3 separate regions of the Homo sapiens genome follow, and regions 1 and 3 are each linked to region 2. Evidence: promoter capture Hi-C in 16 types of primary human blood cells and fetal thymus (Javierre and others, 2016). All regions are on one chromosome and are shown on one strand. The core of a region is centred on a gene start or on the middle of the fragment in contact, and the rest is flanking DNA. Distances in the headings are between cores, read along the strand shown. Region 1 overlaps SREBF2 (sterol regulatory element binding transcription factor 2). Region 2 holds the start of MEI1 (meiotic double-stranded break formation protein 1). Region 3 overlaps SREBF2 (sterol regulatory element binding transcription factor 2).

Evidence for each region. The method cuts DNA at HindIII sites, captures the fragments that hold promoters and counts their contacts. A CHiCAGO score of 5 or more calls a contact.
Region 1: a fragment that was not itself captured here is called in contact with the fragment with the promoter of MEI1 in region 2 in 1 of 17 cell types (megakaryocytes); the score reaches 6.3 in megakaryocytes.
Region 3: a fragment that was not itself captured here is called in contact with the fragment with the promoter of MEI1 in region 2 in 1 of 17 cell types (total B cells); the score reaches 6.3 in total B cells.

What each region holds. Positions count from the first base shown.
Region 1 is chr22:41,858,594-41,861,302 of GRCh38, forward strand. The region is part of intron 1 of SREBF2 (sterol regulatory element binding transcription factor 2); the gene reads left to right. Among named protein-coding and RNA genes, the nearest start is that of SREBF2-AS1, 25 kb to the left of the region's middle. The HindIII fragment of the contact is 6,200 bases long and covers 1-2,709 here.
Region 2 is chr22:41,698,144-41,700,843 of GRCh38, forward strand. It overlaps MEI1 (meiotic double-stranded break formation protein 1), which reads left to right and starts at 1,360. Exons shown (of 31, transcript NM_152513.4): 1 at 1,360-1,569. The coding sequence starts at 1,396. RefSeq lists a silencer at 1,333-1,432. The HindIII fragment of the contact is 5,602 bases long and covers 554-2,700 here.
Region 3 is chr22:41,893,174-41,895,873 of GRCh38, forward strand. It overlaps SREBF2 (sterol regulatory element binding transcription factor 2), which reads left to right. Exons shown (of 19, transcript NM_004599.4): 12 at 1-112; 13 at 1,647-1,764. Among named protein-coding and RNA genes, the nearest start is that of MIR33A, 6.4 kb to the right of the region's middle. The HindIII fragment of the contact is 7,044 bases long and covers 1-2,700 here.

The sequences.
Region 1 (2,709 bases), core at 19-2,518, 160 kb after region 2:
AAAAATTATCTGGACATGGTGGTGTGTGCCTGTACTCCCAGCTACCCAAGAGGCTGCAGTGGAGGATCCCTTAAGCCCAGGAGGTAGAGGCCACAGTGAGCTATGATCACATCACTGCACTCCAGCCTGGGTGACAGAGTAAGACCCTGTCTCTAAAACAGAAACCCAGAACTTACTGTGAAATGGAGGGTTAAGGATCACAACAATAAAAAATCTCATAGGTGACCAAAAAAAGGAAAAGATTTATTTTTTAAAAAAGATAGGGACCTGCCGGGCACAGTGGCTCACACCTGTAATCCCAGCACTTTGGAAGGCTGAGGCGGGTGGATCACGAGGTCAGGGGTTCGAGACCAGCCTGACCAACATGGTGAAACCCCGTCTCTACTGGGCGTGGTGGCGGGCGCCTGTAATCCCAGCTACTCAGGAGGCTGAGGCAGGAGAAGTGCTTGAACCCAGGAGGTGGAGGTTGCAGTGAGCCGAGATCCCGCCACTGCACTCCAGCCTGGGCGACAGAGCAAGACTCCGTCTCAAAAAAAAAAAAAAAAGTGGGGGGACCTAATAAAACAGTCACACAGTTTTATAGACCAGAAAAACTAAGAAATATATAAATACCACAATGAAAAGGCACTTTGGCTTGAAAAACACCTGAGGTTTGCTTGTGGGAAGTAAGTGTCATTAGGTTACAGCTTGGGAGTTATCAGGAAGTGGTGGAAGGAGGGCTGTCTGAAGTCCAATGGAAAGTTCTGACATCAATGTGATGAATGTGATTCATAACACATGCAGTGACCTGATGAAGCTGGTAGATGTTTAAGGTGCCTGTGTATGTGTGTGCACATTTTGTGCATTCCTGCATGGCTCATTTCAGCCGAATATGGTTTTCTGCACTTCCTAGTGTTTTTCTCATGCATAAGCAAATGCAAAATTTATATTATGCTCAGATTGTTTCTGGATGTATCTGATGCATTTGAACAAATTCACATTTTCAAAGTAAGAGTTAAAGCAAAAGTGTCAAAAAAAAAAAACCCACTATGAATAATGTGTACTAGCTAATACTAAGTGCCAGGCATGGTGCCATAGATTCCACATGAGTTATCTCATCAATCCGTGAGTTAGCTGTAATTGTTAGCCACAATGTACAGTTGAGAAAAACTGCAGCTGAAAGAGGTAAAACTTGCCCCAGGTTCCAAGGCTAGGATATGGTGATTCTTTTTTTTTTTTTTTTTTTTTTTTTTTTTGAGACGGAGTCTCGCTCTGTCACCCAGGCTGGAGTGCAGTGGCGCAATCTCGGTGCAAGCTCCGCCTCCCAGGTTCTCGCCATTCTCCTGCCTCAACCGCCCAAGTAGCTGGGACTACAGGCGCCCGCCACCACGCCCAGCTAATTTTTTATATTTTTAGTAGAGACGGGGTTTCACCGTGTTAGCCAGGATGGTCTCGATCTCCTGACCTCATGATCCGCCCGCCTCGGCCTCCCAAAGTGCTGGGATTACAGGTGTGAGCCACCGCGCCAGGCCGACATGGTGATTCTTAATTGCTATGTCATTCTTTTTTTCTGAACATATTAAAAGAGAAATAACAAAGTGGGGGAAGTACTTGCAGACATTTAAGAAGAATAAGTATCTATAATATCTGGAAGTTTTTTAAATCAGTGAAAAAAAAAAAAAGACAAAATAGCCTGATAGCAAAAATGGACGAAGGTCAAGAGCAGGCGGTTTACAAAGGAAGAAATGCAAATGCTCAATAAAATTGGGACTTTAGAAAAAAAAAAGACTTTCAGCCTCAGTTAGTACTCAGTCATGCAAGACAAAACAATTCCATGTTGGTTTTTTCCACTATCAGATTGACAGAAATGGCTGTGAGGAAACACTAGCAGGAGCATAGATTTTTGAAACCTTTCCAAAGCATGTATAGTGGTCCTTTGACCCAGCCATCTAACTTCTAGGAATTTATCCTAAGAAAATAGAGAAGTGGGGGAACAAAAGAGTTGTTAATAATGCCGAATAACTTGCTGGGTGTGGTGGCACACGCCTGTAATCCCAGCACTTTGGGAGGCCAAGTCAAGAGGATCGCTTGAGCCCAGGAGTTTGAGACCAGCTTAGACAACATAGGGAGACTCTGTCTCCACAAAAAAAAGATTTCTTTAAAGTTAGCCAGGTTTGGTGATGCATGCTTGTAGTCCCAGCTACTCAGGAGTCTGAGGTGGGAGGATTGCTTAAGCACAGGAGGTAGAGGCTGCATTGAGCCCCACCACTGCCTTCCAGCCTGGGCAAGAGAGCAAGACCCTGTCTCAAAAAAATAAAAAAAAAAGATAAGGCTGAAAAATTTAAAGCAATTTTTCATCATTAAGTTAAACAAATTTTAATACACTGGTACAGTACAATGGCACACAGAATGATACCGTGGGACTCTGAAAAGGATGATGTTACGTCTGTAATGGTTGACACTGAATGTTCTTCATATTTATTAACCAAAGGGAACAGGGTGCAAAGTAGCATGTTCAGTGTGATCTCATTTTTGTAAAACAATTTGCATGCATGTGCATGCTTAAGTGTGCAAGCAAGCCTTGTAGAGGAAGAAATCTGGAAGGGCACACATTAAAACATTGACAATGGGCCGGGCGCTGTGGCTCACGCCTGTAATCCCAGCACTTTGGGAGGCCGAGGCAGGTGGATCACAAGGTCAGCAGTTCGAGACGAGCCTGTCCATTGTGGT
Region 2 (2,700 bases), core at 110-2,609:
TGTTCTGATTTCTCTGGCACATTTTCCAAGTGCCCCCTTTCGGGGTTTGGGATACTTTGTGGGTGGGGTAGAAGCCCCTTCCACTCTGTGGTTGTGGTTTAGGGAATGTGGGTCAACCCAGTGTCCTCTCCGAAACACCTGCCCCCCAGCTCCTCACAGTGGAGTCCACTGAGGTTCTATCCTGCTCTGTCTCCAAGCTAATCCTGATTGAGGCAGGACACTCCAAAAGCCTCAGCTGCTTATGGGGAGGGGTGGTCCTCTGCATGGGACGCTTTTTTTTTTTTTTTTGAGATGGAGTGTAGGTCTGTGGCCCAAGCTGGAGTTCAGTGGCTTGATCTCCGCTCACTGTAACCTCCGCCTCCTGGGTTCAAGCGATTCTGCTGCCTCAGCCTCCCGAGTAGCTGGGATTACAGTCATGAGCCACCACACCCAGCTAATTTTTGTATTTTTAGTAGAGGAGGGGTTTCGCCCTGTTGCTCAGGCTGGTCTTGAACTTCTTTCTCTCTGTCTTTGGTGTTTTGTTTTGTTTTTTTACTTTTATTTTTTGGTCTTAAGCTTCTGATTTATTTATTTATTTTTAAGATGGAGTCTTCCTCTGTCACCCAGGCTGGAGTGCAGTGGTGCGATCTTGGCTCACTGCAACCTCCACCTCCCAGGTTCAAGTGATTCTCCTGCCTCAGCCTCCCTCCCAAAGTGCTGTGATTACAGGCATGAGCCAACTCACCCAGCCTCTAATTGCTTTTAGATGCGAATCCTTGGGATCGCTTATTTTCCTTTTTTTTTTTTTTTTTGAGATAGAGTCTTGCTCTGTCGCCAGGCTGGAGTGCAGTGGCACAATCTCAGCTCACTGCAACCTCCGCCTCCCAGGTTCAAGTGATTCCCCTGCCTCAAGCCTCCCAAGTAGCTGGGATTACAGGCACTTGCCACCACACCCAGCTAATTTTTTGTATTTTAGTAGAGACGGGGTTTCACCATGTTGGGTAAGATGGTCTTGATCTCCAGATCTCGTGATCCGCCCACCTCGGCTTCCCAAAGTGCTGGGATTACAGGCGTGAGCCACCATGCCCGGCCTTCATTTTTAAAAAACAGTAGAAATAGCTTCCTTTCCTTCCTTTTTCAAGGCAAATGCCCCCTACTTTATAATTGCTTTTCAACTTTGGATGTGGTAAAGACATTCCTGCAGGGTTCTAAGCACAAACCGCTTTTGGCTTAGCTAGACACGATCCAGAGCACTTGCGTCCACCACTTGCCCTCAGTGGCTGCTGCTCGTCTGAGACTGCAGCGCCCTGGGTCCGCGCAGGCGCATTCCACACCGACGCAGGTCCGTCCTCCAAGTGCGCATGCGTGCAGTCTGCGCGGGAAAGAGTGCCGCCTCAGCTGAGGGCAAGCGAGGAGATGGCTGTGAGGCAGGCGGCGACGGCGGGCACTCCCGGGCCCAGGAGAGAGGAAGAGGCGGCGCTTCTATTCGAGAGGGCCCATTACCGGCACGACCCGCGCTGGCTGCTGCCCGTGACCCCCCGCCTGTGCCTGGCCTGCGCGCTGGAGCTGCTGCCGGACCCCGGCGTGTCGGTGCGGGCGGAACCTTTTCTTCAGAAGACCTGGGTTTGGCCATTTCCCTCAGCAAACGCGGCCAGGCCCTTGCCAGACCCGCTCCGGTGAACCCGACGCGAAACCGGGCCCCCGCGCTGTGTTCACTCTCCTCCCTGTCAGCCCGTCCCGGACCCGGCCGCAGCGGCCTCTCGGGCCCCTCAGCCCCAGGCCGGCCTGCGGGCCTCCGTGGAGCCCGGTCCACTGGCTCTGCGCCTGAAAGGACGGAAATCCGGATCCCCCGGGACCTCACCCAGTCTCAGGGACACACCTTCCCGCCTTCCGCCTTCTGGCTCCTTCCCTTTGCTGCCCCTGCCTCCATTTCCCGGGGATTCGGCCTTAGCTCAGGCTCCCGCCATTTCAGCCTCCCGCCATTTCAGCCTCCACTCACCTGCGGGCCAGGGGCGCATGCGGCGGCCGCTCCTCATTCCCTTCAGCTGTCGGGGTGTGAATCGGAGGAGGGGCAGTCTGGGCTCCGAGGGGACAGGAGTGACAGGTTACAGCCGGGCAGAAGTGGGGGTGAACGGGAAGACTGTTCCTTGGGCAGAGCTGGCCAAAGCGGGCTGCCTGGGTCCTCATTGCCTACCGCGTTTGCAATGAAGTGGTTTTGTTTGTTTCGAGACGGAGTCTCGCTCTGACACCCAGGCCGGAGTGCAATGGCGCCATCTCCGCTCACTGCAACCTCTGTTTCCTGGGTTCAAGCGATTCTCCTGCCTCAACCTACCCAGTAGCTGGGATTACAGGCTCCCGCCACCACGCTCGGCTAATTTCTCTATTTTTAGTAGAGACGGAGTTTCATCATGTTGGCCAGGCTGGTCTCGAACTCTTGACCTCAGGTGATCCACCCGCCTCGGCTTCCCATAGTGCTGGGATTATAGGCGTGAGCCACGGTGCCCGACCTGCAGTGAGTTTTCTTGTCCATGGAGGCATCCAAGAAGACTTTGGGAGGTCAAGTTTCTCTCCAATTCATGGGAGGGGAATTCGTGAGTGGGTGGATTGGCTAGATCAGCAGTTCTCAATTTTTTTTTTTTTTTTTTTTTTTTTTGTAGAAACGGTCCCGGGGGTCTCCCTGTGTTGCCCAGGCTGGTCTTGAACTCCTAGTCTCAAGCAATT
Region 3 (2,700 bases), core at 35-2,534, 190 kb after region 2:
GACTCCCTGCGCTGGCTCTGCCACCCCCTGGGCCAGAAGTTTTTCATGGAGCGGAGCTGGTCTGTGAAGTCAGCTGCCAAGGAGAGTCTATACTGTGCCCAGAGGAACCCAGGTGAGAATACCTTGGAGCCATTCAGAATTGGAGAAAGCCATGCAAACCGCCGGTACTACAGAGTCACTGCACCAGACACGCGGAGACACGGGTTGTCTCTTAATCTTGTTGAGTCCGTTTGTTTGTTTGTTTGTTTGTTTGTTTGAACCAAAGCTCAGGGAGGTTGAGTAACTTGCTTAAGGTCACAAGCCTGATCAGAAATTGTCAGTGGCTAAGCTGGGTGTGCAGCTCTGCTCTCTCTAACATTCAGAGCCCATGGTCCTTACATCACACAGCAATAAATTGTGATTAAGCTCCAAGGGTACTCTTAGCCCTTGTTTTGGGCACTTTGGAGACACAAAGGATGTGTGAGGCTTGCTTTCCCTGGCCTCCAGGTCTCTCCCATTGGGAGAGCAGACAGACATAAATGGAGAGTTTGGGAACAATAGGTGGCAGGCAGTCATCAACTGCTCAGAGTGGTGACAGGGACGAGGCTTCAGGCATTGGAAGGAGGTGCTGGCTTTCTGTCCCTGGCATTTGATAGTGATTGGAGTTGACTCGCCCGGCCTTGGAGCAGTAGAGGCTGGTCAGGATTGACTTAGACCTTGAGTGCTCAGTGGCTGTCTGCTTTCTGCTGTACTTTTCCTCCCCTCTCAGAATTGGAGTCTGTGGGGAGAGTAAGGTTCTACAGGTATAGGGGTGTGTGTCACACATTGGGGGAGTTCACTGTCCTTTTCTTTTTTAAATAATAACTGTATTGCTCAACGTGAGAATTGTGTGCAACACCAAAATATAAAGGATGAAAGCAAAAGCAATCCTAAATCTTTCTACCCCACCCCTGCTGGCTAAACATGGACTTCTCAGTGGCTTTGTCATCTCTGGCAGTCTCTGGCTCCAGGCCTTGTTACTTGGAATGTGTTCATAAGTGTCCCTCCTCCTGGTCATTAGATCGAGGCCCACATATCTGCCACATGTGAGGAGAGAGAAGGGGCTGGTGATTTGAGGCCTGCCAGTAAAGAAACTTGCTGGTGACAGTCAGCTATCCAAGCATTGCAAGGCCCCGTGTCTAGCCAGTTCAGACAGGTCACTGCTGATGGCACGTTCCATGACAAGGCTCTGGAAAAACCGGAGCATGTTCTTCGTTGTCATGAGCGTGGCAGCAGCTACCACCTTTTTTTCCTTGCCTGGTGGTTCTCCTTAGCCACATGGAGAAGAGAAATCCTCTGAGACATTCCATTTTCTGTTTTCTGATCCAACTCCACCTGACAGCTCCCAACCTTAGAGTACTGAGCACTGTGCCAGGAGACACAGCACCCTCCCCCACACCCCCTCCCCACCGGAGCTCATCCAGAACTAGTCTTGAGCTCTTCAGGCTGGGAGTGAACACTCTCCCCCATCCTCCAACTGTTTAGCACAGTAGTTCTGGGCTTTGGTGGAGAAGGGGCATCTGATCCCCATTCACAAGGCATGGCTGTGTTTGGAGTTTCTCTCCGTAAAGACAAAGTGGGCTCATAAATGAGCTCCATTTAACCCCCCTTGCCTGTCTCTTTTCCAGCTGACCCCATTGCGCAGGTCCACCAGGCCTTCTGCAAGAACCTGCTGGAGCGAGCTATAGAGTCCTTGGTGAAACCTCAGGCCAAGAAGAAGGCTGGAGACCAGGAAGAAGAGAGCTGGTAAAGTCCCCAGACCAGTCCCCCTGCCTTAGGACCTGTCCACGCAGGCAACTCCAGGACAGCCTGAAGGCCTGCACTCCTGGAGGGAAACAAGCCTGGCATCGGGTTGGCAGGGCAATCAAATGGTTCCTTTGTATTTAATTTCTCAAAAATGAGAGCCCTATGTTAACTCTGACCTGGCCTTTCCTCCTAGACCAAGTGCGTTTTTTTTTTTTTTTTGGAGACGGAGTCTCGCTCTGTCACTCAGGTTGGAGTGCAGTGGCGCAATCTTGGCACACTGCAAGCTCTGCCTCCTGGGTTCACGCCATTCTTCTGTGTCAGCCTCCTGAGTAGCTGGGACTACAGGCGCCTGCCACCATGCCCGGCTAATTTTTTGTATTTTTAGTAGAGACGAGGTTTCACCATGTTAGCCAGGATGGTCTCGACCTCGTGATCCGCCTGCCTCAGCCTCCCAAAGTGCTGGGATTACAGGCGTGAGCCACCATGCCCAGGCCTTTTTTTTTTTTTTTTTTTTTGAGATGGAGTTTCGCTCTTGTTGCCCAGGCTGGAGTGCAATGGACCAGTCTCAGCTCACTGCAACCTCTGCCTCCCGGGTTCAAGTGATTCTTCTGCCTTAGCCTCCCAAGTAGCTGGGATTACAGGCGCCCACCACCATGCCTGGCTAATTTTTGTACTTTTAGTAGAGATGAGGTTTCACCATGTCATTCAGGCTGGTCTTGAACTCCTGATCTCGGGCAATCCGCCTGCCTCGGCCTCCCAAAGTGCTGGGATTACAGGCATGAGCCACCACGCCTGGCAGGTGCACCCATTTTTATGTATCCCTTTACCAAGCGGAGTCAGTACTTGGACCAAGTCAGGGATTTCATTAGCTTGCTCTGCTTTTTGGGGTAGGGAGCAGGGGCCTGTTGAAAGGGGATGGGGGCTGGGTGCAGTGGC